Linked DNA regions of Homo sapiens: regions 2 and 3 are each linked to region 1. The links are contacts of gene promoters, found by promoter capture Hi-C in blood cells and fetal thymus (Javierre and others, 2016). All regions are on one chromosome and are shown on one strand. Each heading gives the region's core, a stretch centred on a gene start or on the middle of the fragment in contact. The rest is flanking DNA. Distances are from core to core; before and after follow the strand shown. Region 1 holds the start of ADAD2 (adenosine deaminase domain containing 2). Region 2 overlaps MBTPS1 (membrane bound transcription factor peptidase, site 1). Region 3 overlaps NECAB2 (N-terminal EF-hand calcium binding protein 2).

Evidence for each region. Contacts are between HindIII fragments. The CHiCAGO score rates a contact against its expected background, and 5 or more counts as called.
Region 2: a fragment that was not itself captured here is called in contact with the fragment with the promoter of ADAD2 in region 1 in 3 of 17 cell types (erythroblasts, M0 macrophages and M2 macrophages); the score reaches 5.2 in erythroblasts.
Region 3: a contact is called between a fragment that was not itself captured here and the fragment with the promoter of ADAD2 in region 1, in 3 of 17 cell types (M1 macrophages, monocytes and M0 macrophages). The highest score is 6.2, in M1 macrophages.

Annotation. Positions count from the first base shown.
Region 1 is chr16:84,189,737-84,194,255 of GRCh38, reverse strand. It overlaps ADAD2 (adenosine deaminase domain containing 2), which reads right to left and starts at 3,099. Exons shown (of 10, transcript NM_001145400.2): 1 at 2,608-3,099. The coding sequence starts at 3,025. It overlaps ADAD2-AS1 (ADAD2 antisense RNA 1), which reads left to right. Exons shown (of 5, transcript NR_147175.1): 5 at 1-1,698. RefSeq lists an enhancer at 3,059-3,353. The HindIII fragment of the contact is 4,803 bases long and covers 2,048-4,519 here.
Region 2 is chr16:84,055,057-84,059,256 of GRCh38, reverse strand. MBTPS1 (membrane bound transcription factor peptidase, site 1) reads left to right here. Exons shown (of 23, transcript NM_003791.4): 22 at 3,122-3,252. Among named protein-coding and RNA genes, the nearest start is that of SLC38A8, 14 kb to the right of the region's middle. RefSeq lists enhancers at 2,831-3,423, 3,424-4,017. The HindIII fragment of the contact is 5,418 bases long and covers 73-4,200 here.
Region 3 is chr16:83,988,773-83,993,014 of GRCh38, reverse strand. It overlaps NECAB2 (N-terminal EF-hand calcium binding protein 2), which reads right to left. Exons shown (of 13, transcript NM_019065.3): 6 at 2,385-2,521. Among named protein-coding and RNA genes, the nearest start is that of NECAB2, 23 kb to the right of the region's middle. The HindIII fragment of the contact is 5,019 bases long and covers 1-4,057 here.

The DNA of each region.
Region 1 (4,519 bases), core at 1,850-4,349:
CTGTGACCCATCGCTGATTCAACCAAGTCCTCACCCAACTCCTCCACAGCAGGGATGCGTGACTCCATTTCACAGATGAGCAGAAACGGCAGGCGGTTTGCCCAACTTGAGTCAGGACCCAAATCCAGGTCCCCTCTCCAGAGCCCACGCCACCCTGTTCTCAGGAGGAAGGCTCTGAGCACTTCCACCTGCCACAGACACATTGCTTTCAATTCCTCTCCTCCAGGGGCTCTATATTTGAACACTTTTCCTATGAAACAGTATCATTTTGGGTGTTACTTATAACACAAAAGAGAGATGAAAAATCTGGAACTGGGATCACATGGTCAAAGGTGCAGGGTTAATTTCACAGTACTTGCTGCTAAATTGTTTCTCCCAAGGACTGCCCCTCTGGGGGTTTCCCTTTTGGAAGGGAACCCATTTCAGCACTCCCCACTGCGCTGAGATCTGTCTGCTCTAAACAGGCATCAAAACCAGCAACCACAGACAGACGTGGAAGGGATGTTGGCCTTAGAAAGCCAGCATGTGGCTGCCATCCTAACAGCGACTGAATCTGGGGAGAACCATCAAAGCATGATTTTCTAAAACCACAAGTGACAATGTTATAGGGACAGGATATCTACATGATCTCCAAATGCCTCCCCTGGATGACTTATTCAGCACAAAGGAGAAAGTGAAGACACCTGGTAGATGCCACCCTAGTCAAATCCCCACAGCTCGCATCGCCAGGGGACAAAGCAAGATCGCACACTTCCTGGTGAGATGCGTGCCAAAGACTCGACATCACTTCAATAACACATCACCTGAACTCAGTTCTGAGGAAACAGACAAACCCAAGCTGAAGGACATTCGCAAAACTACTGGCCCTTACTCTTCAAAGACATCAATGTTGTGAAAGACAAAGACAGGAACTGTTTCAGGTAAGAGATTAAAGAGGCATGACAGCTAACTGTAATGTCATACTGGGATGGGAAACAATGGCCATGAGGTCATTACTGGGACAACTGGCAAAATTTGAATGTGAATAGAAATTAGAAGATGGTATTATATCAATGTTAAATTTCCAGGATTTGATAATTGTATTGTAGTTACATAAGAGATGCCCTTGTTTTTAAGAAATATAGATGAGGCCGGGCACAGTGGCTCACTCCTGTAATCCCAGCACTTTGTGGGGCTGAGGACAGGAACTCAAGACCAGCATGGCCAACACGGTGAAACCCCATCTCTATTAAAACACAAAAAAATTAGCTGGGCACGGGGGCACAAGTCTGTCATTCCAGCTACTCGGGAGGCTGAGGCGCAAGAATCGTTTGAATTCGAAAGGCAAAGGTTGCAGTGAGTTGAGATCTCACCACTGCACTCCAGCCTGGGCCACAGAGCGAGACTCTGTCTCAAAGGAAAAAAAAAAAGAGGGCTGGGCAAGGTGGCTCTAACCTATAATCCCAGCACTTTGGGAGGCCAAGGCGGGCGGATCACTAGAGGTCAGGAGTTTGAGACCAGCCTGGCCAACATGGTGAAACCCCATCTGTACTAAAAATACAAAAATAAATTAGCCGGGCTTGGTGTGGACACCTGTAATCCCAGCTACTCAGGAGGCTGAGGTAGGAGAATCACTTGAACTTGGGAGGCAGAGGTTGCAGTGGGCTGAGATAGTGCCACTGAACTCCAGCCTGGGCCACAAGAGTGAAACTCCATCTCAAAAAGAAAGAAAAAAGAAAAACAAACAAACAAACAAACAAAAAACACGTGAATGTATTTACAGGTAAGGAGCATAATGTCTGCAATTAACTTTTAAATTAAAACTCTGGGCCAAGTGTGGTGGCTCACACCTGTAATCTCAGCACTTTGGAGGCCCAGGAGGTCAGATAGCTGGAGCCCAGGACTTCAAGAACAATCTTGGCAACATGGTAAAACCACATAATCTCTACAAAAAAAATACAAAAATTAGCCAGGTGTAGTGGAGTCCACCTGTAGTCCCAGCTCCTCGGGAGGCTGAGGCGGGAGTATCACTTGAGCCCAGGAGGCGGACGCTGCAGTGAGGCAAGCTTGTTCCACCGCATTCCAGTCTGGGCAACAGAGTAAGACCCTGTCTCAAAAAAAATCCAAAACACAAAACAACCACTCTGAGTTAAGGGATTTAAGGGGTATGTATTGAAGAAGAGGAAATAACGGTTTACCTCTGTATCATGTACACGGTATTACCCTTACCAAACTGTGCTTAATAATGTCTTTTAAGTCAGGGGAGTGGCTCCCATTTCGGTATCTCCAATGCTAGCACGGCAACTTAAATTGCATGTAAGTGGCTCTAAAAACGTATACAGAAATACCAGGGGGCCTTAACCTCCCTGGAAGTCAGGTGGGAAGAATGTTCACCTGCCATGACTCTTTCACAGTTGAGCATCTGGTGTGGCTGGTGATCCTTGGAGATCGCTGCTCACAGCAGGGTCCACCCCAAGGTCCCAAGCTCAGGCCAGGTCCTGCTCCGGCGGTGTCTCTGAGCATAGGGACCAAGGTCCACCTTCCCCAGACCCCCTGCTCCCCACGTCCTGGGACCCAGCCCTCCGTGGCTCTGCCCTCTGGCACAGCCATGCCCCGGCCCGGCCTCACCTGGTGGCTGGTCCTCCCGGAAGAGCAGGAAGATGCCCAGGCTGGCCGCGTACTCCGTGAGCAAGGACACGGCCTGGCTGGCAGGTGGGTCTTTGAGCGGCAGGCTGAGCCCTGCTGGGGGCACAGGGACCCTCGGGGCCTTCCCCATCTGTTCCCCCAAGTTTTCCCACGCCCGGGCTGCCCCCAGTTCCCCGACTCCGGCCCCTGCCCCAGGCCCACTGTCCCTCAACACCGAGACCTGGGGCCACCCGCCCTCCGCGCGATACGTCGCGGGCGCGGGCGCGGGCCCCCAGGCACTTTGGGCCTGGGCGGGTAGCGGTCGCCAGGGGCGGGGCTGGGGGCTGATCTGCAACGATGCAGCCAGGCGGGGCTTCCTACGACTGCCGTCGTCGTCAGCGCCCTGAGAAGCCGAAGCCATGGCCGCCAACGAAGATCTGAGGCGCTAGGCCCTATCTCGCGCTGCTCTCGCCCTTTCACACGCGCAGGGCGGGTGCCTTCACGTGGGGAGCACGCGGACGAAGCGTGGTGAGCTCCACCCCTGCCATACGATGGCCAATGAGAGCCCTGAGATCTGTGATGGACAGTGCACCCTGCCAATGGGAAGGCCAGTCTCCCAACGACGGCGGCTTGGATGCTTATGGCTGAGGCCAAGGTCCCACTGCCTGGACGGAAGTTCCGGCTGAGACCAACGTCCCATGGCCTGGAGGGAAGTTCCGGTGGGTGGGTGAGGGGTTGCTCTAGCAGCTGCTTCTTTAACCGTGGGTGGTCGCGGAGCCTGCAAGGCGGGGGAGGAGCATCTGGGGGCGTCAGGTCCAGTTTCACACTCTAGCTCCTGCCCTAGGCCCCTAGGCACCTCCACATCACAGGCTGCTCAGCTGCTTCACTGGCTGAGCCTGGAGACTTCAACACAGGAATTAGGGGTTCACACTGTCAGCAGGATCATTGGATATAAAATTTCACTGCAGGCCTTTCTGAAGCCAAACATAAGTGTTCCCCAGCCAAGAATTAGCCATTTGATGCAAAATGTAGGTGGGCGTGGTGGCGCACACCTGTAGTCCCAGCTACTCAGGAGGCTGAGGCAGGAGAATCGCTTGAACCTGGGAGGAAGAGGCTGCAGTGAACTGAGATTGCGCCACTGCACTCCAGCCTGGGCAACAGAGCGAGACTCTGCCTCAAAAAATAAATAAATAATTTTTTTTAAGAAAATAGCCATTTGATACTCTGCCTTTTTCCCCCCTAAGAAGGGATTTTGAGTTAATTCATACAAATAAGACAAGATAACAATTGTTTAAAGTGAAGAGCTAGAGATCAAGAGACATAGGAAAAATAAGATAAAGACAGGGATGAAGACAATTTACACAAGGCTTACTGTGATGCAACGCGTATTTGCTTGAAGGAGGCTGCAAGTTTAACGGAGTCTTACAGTAGCCACTAACTTGGGAAAGCATGACCAGTGTCTGTAAGATTTGTCACAGTGCTTGCTGCTGCTGCTGCTGAAGCTGGGCCTGGCAGCTCTCTCCAGGATTGTGACAGTGAGGATGCTGGGGCATATGAGGACCAGGTGGTGGAGTCCTCCCAGAACCTTTGACTTGGAAGAAGCAGGTGTGGTGGGCTGGGTAGTCAGCCTCCCCAACATGTCAAGAATTGACATCAGGAAGAACAATTCCATTTTGTGTGTGTGTGCAGCCCAGAGAGTGGGATGAGGCCCAGGAGAGTGAAGGGACAGCACAGCAGATGTCCAGAAATGGACTGAGGGCTGCACATATCCACAGAGAGACTTCCACAAAGTCATCAAACCCAGTAACGCCCCAAACGCTCACCAACAGGAGGTTGCGTGAACAAATCAATGGTATATTCATACAATGGAACACGACTCACTAATTTAAAAAGGAAACAACAGCTGCGTACACAA
Region 2 (4,200 bases), core at 1,532-4,031, 130 kb after region 1:
AGTCATTGCTTTTCTTATAGGAGAGAATGGAATTTTACTGACATCACTATCGAATTGTCAGATCTTCAAGCTTGTCATTTGCGACAGTTATTTAGTGAACCTCGTATTGGCCTTTGGAAATAGGCTCTTTGGTGGTATCCTGCATAAAAAGTGCTTTGGATAATTAGCATTTTGTTACATTTGGTTAATTCTTTTTTAAAAAGCTGGGATCCAACAGAGTGATTTCATGGGAGCTGGAGCTCTAAGTCCTGTGGTTGGGGAGTTAAGAGCTGCCGGCTGCAGTGTGTTCCCTGTTTCAGACATTGATGATAAGATACAGATAGTTCCCTTCTTCTGTCATCCCCGGGGGCCGCGGTTGCAGCCTGTCCAAGAAGAGCATGCTTCTGTGTCATTACGTCCTGTGCTGACTGTGACTGGGGGTGAAAGCACCCGCCTCCGATGGCAGGCTGTGACCTCTGCTGCTGTCTCCACACTCCTGTTTGCAGTGCCGCCTGGATCCCTTCTCCAGCTCACTAACTCGGCTTCTTCATTTGCATCGTTTCCTTTCCGTACCCAGTGTTTGAGGTGGACCTGCTGTTTCCCTCTGTGGCTAGGACCAGCTCGGCATGGCTGGTCCCCTTTTTCTCCAGATGCCACCCCCTTACTTTTTCTGTGACGTCCCTGGCCCAAACAGGACAATATAAGAAGAAAGGGGGAGCTTCTCCTGAGAAAGGGGATGAAGCCAGGGACAGCTGTCAGAGCTGTGTCCGTGGCCGGGCAGGCACACCTCCCACCCCATCAAGCAGGAGTCTTGCCCTCCGAGGCCCCCTGGCCGCCTGGTACCCGGCCCCTCTCCCCAGCCCCTCAGGCAGGAGGCTACCCTCTTGACAGGCCCCCTGCCTGCCTTCTTTTCCTCCAGTGATGGTATGGGGCCAGGGACGGAGGCCACCTTCCGTCCTGTAAGGCGAAGAGGAGAGTGCCCGTGTGAAGGTGGCGAGGCTGCCTTCCGCCTTTACTCCTCATCATAAACCGAAAGTGCTGAACACACCACGCACTGACCGTATGTCTTCATTTCGAATATGCTTAATAGAACACAGGAAAATGGTAGAATCATCACATTGTCTCATCAGTAGCTTTCTTCCTGAACCTTAATCACTGGGTACTTTTCCATTCCAGTTCACATCTCATCATTTAAACATTTCTGATAAGTTTCCATTTTTGCATCTTATTTATTTATAACCTTCTATTAGCCTAGCATTCAAACCAGCATTTATATTCCAGCCATGGTCAGCAATTCATACTCAGTGAACAGTGTTAGCTGAATTTCCAGAAACCCAATTATTCTCCACAGTGTTGTTCAGGACTTGAAGCAGATAACAATATCCTTTCTATCCTTGGCTATCTACCTGTTCACATCAAATAATCCATCACATACTGAACCGGCCCATCCAGCATGTTGATAATGGACAGCTCCTGGAATTTGATTTTCACAATCACTCAGTAATTCCTTCTTCTCAGTACGCTGCTGGGTTTTACATTTATCTTGCTTTTCATATCTTGTTGAAAATTATTCTCGGTCCCCAGAGACCTAGATCGACGCATATTCTGAGTCTCCAAAAGAGATTTGAGACCAGGAGACAGCTCCAGATGCTGTCAGCCCAGTGCTGGGGGCAGGCTTCCATCTGTGAAGTGGAGAGGCGCTTTGGGCTTCTTCGTTGGCATCAGGTGCCCATACCTAGGGCAGCTGTGGAAGTGTCAGCGTCCTCCCTGAGAGGAACTCCTGCTCCGGTGGCTCCTCAGTCCTTCCGTCAGTATGCTGTAAAGCACCCACATGGTAATGGGTGTGGACTGTTACCATGACTGCTCCACTAGAAAGTGCCATCACCAAAGAATGAGATTCTGGAACAGGATATCACTGTTAGAATGGAAATATAGCCCATAGATATTCAGCTACAAAGTCATAAAGCCTAAATGTCATTGATTCCGTAACTTAACACTGTCAGTTTAACTTTCAGACTGATTAAGCCTGAAGTGTAAAATTAAATCCTATAAAATAGGGCGGGTTATAATGAGTGCTCATTGGCATTCAGGCAGTTGCCGAGCTGGGAGTATCGAGTGGGAGTCTCTCTCTTGCCTGCCTAGGGAACCTCTACTCAGACCAGCCCTTGCCCGCCAGCTTGGCGTTGACTTTCAGCCTAATTGCTGATAGGACTGGACGTCTTTGCTTTCACTTGCCCAAAGTGAAAGAGACAGGCTGACAGTTTCCAAATGAATAAATAACAGAAAAATAGAGAAATTTTAATTTGCAAACTTACTGTATTCTTCCCCCTCACTTAAGCCAGAGTAGTGTTTTTCCCATCGCGCTCTTCGCTCTAGCTCCGGTGTCCTCCCAAGCTCTGTGCTGCTGTTGCCAGCGTATCAACCTCTCTGTCTTCTTCGGGTCTAAGTTGTATTGGCCTGAACGAGTTTTTCAGATCCCAGAGTTAATAATGATACTGTGCACCACAGAGTGCAGGAATCGCACACGTTCATTTGATCGTCCCCCGCCTGCAGGCAAGGCAGATGGGGACCCCACGTTTTGCTGCTCAGACTCTCTCCCACTGTTGGTTCCTTGTATGTTTCGTATTCTCCCTGGAGACAGTGGTTTCTTCAGAGACAAAGATGCTGTCTGGTTCCCGGCACCAGTTTGCCCACTTCCTTATATGCAGTGGTTCTGGAATCACCATTGCCTCCGACTGCTCCAGGCCTTAGGGAGAGGACCTCGATAGCCCCAGGCTCAGGTCCACTCAGCAGGCTTCAGCTCCTCCCCCTGACAGGCTCCTTCCAGGGCCTCGCTTGGAGTGTCCTCCCGAGGCGCTTGGTCATGTTTAGCTTTATGCAAAAACAGGCTCCTGCTGGTCATATTGTAAACTCAGTAGAATCTCATGAACAGGGACTTGATTTTGATCTTTCTCCCTCGGGACGTGGAAACGGCCACCATAGTTGCTGTCAGTGGCATTTAGGTGGCCGTGGACGCAAATGGCATTTCACATCTCCCCGTAGATCACTTGCTCTGTCTTGAGTTTCAGTTGAACTTCCTAGACTAGTACCTAGACTAGTACAATGGCTTATTTTTGTTTTGTTTTAATCCATTTTCCTGAAGTAACCTTTGGAAACATCAGAAGCTACTCTCCATTGACCTGGACAAGGTGGTGTTACCCAACTTTCGATCGAATCGCCCTCAAGTGAGGCCCTTGTCCCCTGGAGAGAGCGGCGCCTGGGACATTCCTGGAGGTGAGTTCTCGGCTGCTTTGTGATTGTGCTCAGTCATCCTGTATTTTGTTCAAAGGAGTCTCCCTCCCTCCCCAGGAGGCGGGCCAGACTCTCCCTGTCTCTGCCTTCCTGGGAGCTGTGGTGGCCTTGGCTCTTGGCTTCTTTTGTGGCACAAACCAGCATGAGCAAGGGCAGGCCTGACAGATTAAGAGATTGTTGTTTCCCTTAGAAAATGCTACCTAGATTTTCACATTTGAATTTATTTTACAACGGCTGGGTGATCTACTTAAACATGTTCAAAGTAACTTGCACGCTCTTTATGAAAGTTCTGCCAGCCACCTATTAACGTCCCTTACAGGATGCCTGTCTGCTGGTTTGGGTCCCAGCCAATGGCAGCAGCCGCCCTGGCTCCCAGCCCTCAGCCCAGAAGGCCCCTTCAGTTCTCTGCCCTGCCCCCCTGGGAGGGACTTGACTGAGCTGGGGTGTGTCCCTTAGGTGGTCTCATCCTGTCTGTCTCTCCAGGGATCCTGACTGGCTACATAGACTGCCTAGGGCAGGTTCTTCTCCACTACCCAAGGCAATTGGTACCAGGCCTTTCCAGCCGAGCCTGGGCAGTTCTTTTGCTCTAGAGTCCCCTGTACTCTTCCAAAGAGTTTATAGCTACCAAGAGGAGTTTCTCTGGGTTCCAGGAATTGTCCAGAAATGGGATCAGGAAGGGGCACCCCTGTCTGTGCAGTCCAGCCCTGGACACCACGTGGTGGTGCCAGGGTCCTGAGGGCCTTGCGCATAGGTCACGGGGTGCGCTGAAGGTAAATTCCAGAGCCCTTGGCCTTGCCCAGTCGTATTGACATTCTGAACCAGGGTCCTCTGATGGCCTCTCCTGGCTTTCAGCCACACGTCCCCTCCATGAAGGGCTTTCCCAGAGGCGGGGCACTGCCAGCGGTGCTTCTTCCGCCACGCCCCCTTTCT
Region 3 (4,242 bases), core at 299-2,798, 200 kb after region 1:
AGGTGGGTGTAACTGCTGACGCGTGATGGAGCTGACCCAGTGTGGGAAGTCTGCCCTGAAAACTGCGCAGCCATACTATCTGTTCTGCGGCAGGAGAAAAACAGCAAGTTTTTCATCAAGATAGTAACAGGAAAACCCAGGAAATCTAAGTGTCAGCTTTTTTCACAGCGATGGCTGCTAATTCTGGGGCACCCAAGAATCACAAGACTGACCACATGTGCAGAGTTCTGGGCTCCAGTCCAGGGATTCTAGCCAGTGAGTATGGCCAGGAGCCCAGGAATGTGTATTTTAATTTTCCCAGGTGATTCAGCGCAAATGCTCAGATCAAACTCATTTGGGAAACAGTGTCTCAGAGTTACCTTCACAATCATGTCTGATCAGGACCAGCTCTTCAACTACGAAGAAACACACGATCAAACCCCAGTCCCCCAGCAAACCAATATCCTGGTCCTGAGGTACCTCTCTGCCTGGAAAATTAAGGGCTCAATCGAGCTTGGGTGCCGACACCTGGCTGTTTCCCTCATCTGTTTGCATTTTCTCTTTTTCTTCTGTGTCAAGCACATCAGCTGTTCTGGGAAGAACTGAGCAAAGAAGGGTTTTTCTCAATTTGAAACAGCAAATGGAGGTGGGCGGGGGGACGGGTGCTCGTGTTCCCCGGGAGATGGGACTGCTGAGCCACGAGAATGTCGCTCCTCTCTAAATACCAGGTCACACCCCTAACACAGCAGCCACCACCTAGGATGGGACCCCAGATGCATTCCCATGGTTCCAAGCACACAAACAAGGCCTAACACAAGACCAGAAAGAAACACTCCTCTTTCACGTCTCTTTCAGTCCTCCTGAGAAACTCTCAACTTGCTACTACTGTCTTCAACACCTCTCTGATTTCCCCCCAGTCTCTCTTTTTAACAGAGAGGTGGCAAGCCTCAGGATTCAAGCTGGATCGTAAACAATGACAGGTGCTTATTTTTACAGTTACTTCACTTACGGCATGTGATGCCGAGAGTGCAGTTATAACCATATGCCATTTCCTAAACTGCTTTCTAATTTTCAAAAGTGGGCTGGGGTGTGGTGGCTCCTGCCTGTAATCCCAGCCCTTTGGAAGACTGAGACAGCAGGATTGCTGAGACCAGGAGTTTGAGAACAGCCTGGCCAACATGGCGAGACCCCGTCTCTACAAAAAAAAAAAAAAAAAAAATAGCTGGGTGTGGGTGGGACTACATGCCTGTAGTCCCAGCTCCTTGGGAGGCTGAGGTGGGAGAATTGCTTGAACCTGAGTTGGAGATTGCAGTGAGCCACAATGGTGCCACTGTACTCCAGCCTGGGGGACACAGCAAGATTCTGTGTCAATAAATAAAATAAGGCCGGGCTCCATGGCTCAAGCCTGCAATCCCAGCACCTGGAGGCTGAGGCGGGTGGATCACCCTAAAGACCAGCCTGGCCAACATGGTGAAACCCCATCTCTACTAAAAATACAAAAATTAGCTGGGTGTGCTGGTGGGCATCTGTAATCCCAGCTACTAGGGAGGCTGAGGCAGGAGAATCGCTTGAACCTGGGAGGCGGACGTTGCAGTGAGCTGAGATCTCGCCACTGCACTCCAGCCTGGGTGACAGAGCAAGACTCGATCTCAAAAAAAAAAAAAAAAGAAAAGAAAAGAAAAGGAAATAGAAAAAGAAAAAAGAACGAATGAGAGAAAGAGAGAAAGAAAGAGAGAGAGAGAAAGAGAAAATAGGCTAGCTGTGGTGGCTCACACCTTTCATCCCAGCACTTTGGGAGGCTAAGGCAGGTGGATCACGTGAGGCCAGGAGTTCAAGACCAGCCTGGCCAACATGACAAAACCCCGTCTCTACTAAAAATACAAAAATCAGCCAGGCATGGTGTTACACACCTGCAGTCCCAGCCACTCAGGAGGCTGAGGCATGAGAATTGCTTGAACCCAGGGAGGGAGAGGTTGTAGTGAGCCAAAATCACGCCACTGCACTCCTGGGCGACAGAGCGACACTTTTTGTCTAAAACAAAAAAATAAATAAATAAATAAAACGTGGGCCAAACAACAGAATAGTTCTGCATAAACAATTAGCATGTGGATGCAGCAAAACAAATTAGAGTCTGGGAAATGGTGTCTTCACTGTATTAATAAATATGTACACCAGGCATTCTCCTGAGCATTTACTATCTCATTCAATCCTTGCAATGGCTGAGATTTTAGGTATATAATTGTGCCTATATTACATAATGGAGCACCAAAGGCACAAAGAGCTGTGGCAACTTGCCCAAGGTCACCCAGCTCTTAGGTACACAGACATCCCCACCAAGCAGCAGGTGGGCACGTGCGCGTGCACGGCATACCCCCATGGGACCCTGCAGGGTCTCAGAGACTCACCGGAGCTGGCTGGTCTGTTCCTCGATGGCCTCCACCGCACTCTCCACTGAGCTCAGCAGCGACTGGATCTGATTGGCCGTCTCCTTCAGGAGGAAGCGGGTCACAAACTGGTCCACGTTGCTCCCACCCTCATATACCTGTGGAAGGAAGAGAAGAGGCACTGAGGGGAAAGGGGTGGGAGGGAAATTGGAGGTGGGGTCTAGCACAGGAGTTGGGGGAAAGCTGGTGCTGGTGAATTTGCTTTGCAAAGGGAAGGGAGGACCCCACGGCCTCCTGGGGTCCAGTCTTAGAGGCTGTAGCATTTCCAACGCAGAGGCTAGAGGTTTAGAGACCAAATTTGAACCCTGGCTTCACCACTTACTAGCTCTGTGACCTCCCAGAGTATAATGGGGTCACTGAAGCATCTATCTTACAAGGTTGTAGCGAAGATTAAACAGCAACATGCGTGTACAATGCTCTGCACAGGGCCTGCCACACAGCAAAGACTCAATCAACAGTAGGTGCTACAATATAGATGACGGTGATGGTGGCAGTGATAGTGACTGGTAGTTTTGTTGTTGCTGTGACAAGGATAATGATCAGGCAAGAAGAATCCACGACCTTCCCTCCCTCCTTCCTCCTGCAAGGAGGATTCCTAGGGCTCCTGGATCTCCAGGCTGCTACTAAGGAAAATGACAAAACGGAATCAAAAGCAGCTGAAGGGAGGAAAGTGCCCGGGGCTTAGTAATCAAAAGGAGGTGGCCAGAGAGGAGCCTGGGGGGAAATCAGAGAGGGAGTCTTAGCGGAACTCTGGGGAAAAGACGAAAAAGAAAGTTTTTTCCAAGTTTTGCTCTGTGGTGTGGAACAGAATTTCCACCTCTGTCCTGAGATTCTGCAAGGACATTTCTCAAGGCTTTTGGATCCAGTGGAGATGCTTTGGGCTGCAAAGACTTTACAGCAGAAGGGAGAAAGCTCTGCTTACCCACGTCGCTCAAGGACGGGATGATGAAAATGATGCTGTGTTGGGGGATCTTGGGTCTCCCAAACCCTGCCCTGCTCTCCTGGCCTCCTCTGCCAAGACCCCGCCTTCCCAAGCCACCTGCCCCAGGCACCTTGGATTTCTGCCCAGTCCCTGGCAAGGCAAGGAAAAACAGGGCTCTCAAGGAAAGCAAATTAAACCATCCATCACTCTGACTGGGAATTAATTAGCAATAATTGCACAATGGGAAACACGGCTGACAGACAGACTGAGAAACAGAGGAGGAGGAGGGGCACATGAGAAGACAGCTAAGGCGTGGTGAAGGTGGGCGACCCAAGCCACCAAGCCGACAGCCAGACCAGGGTCTGCTGGGGACAGACCCTGACAGAGTACATGGCCAAAACTATGTCAGGTTCTTACAGCTTGGCAGGTTCCCGCAGCTGAATAAATGGCAATGACCAAAACCACACATGATCCAGTGATCAACAGACTCCAGACACGCGAATGGCCAAAAACGGACATGAAGACATAACTTGGTAAAATATTTAAACACAAAGCAAAAGGCTGCTAGAAGTGATCAGCAGAAAAATGGGCTGAAGTGTGTTAAAAGCACCCGGACCAGTGACTGAAGATGTGGTCAGCGATCAATAAGTGTTACTGGTTAGCTGAATTCCAAAGAAGACAAGTTATTTTCCGGGGAGTAAAAAATGAAGCTTTTCCTGATTTCTCCTCCACAACTGAAAAGCAGCCTACATTCCCCCATGTAAAGATACAACCCCAGATTTGACACAGGGGTACACGTGCCTATTTGTTACATGGGTATATTACATAATGGGGGGGGACTGAGCTTGCCTCAGACAAGAGACCAGCTCCACAGACTCCACAGGGAAAGGCTCAGGT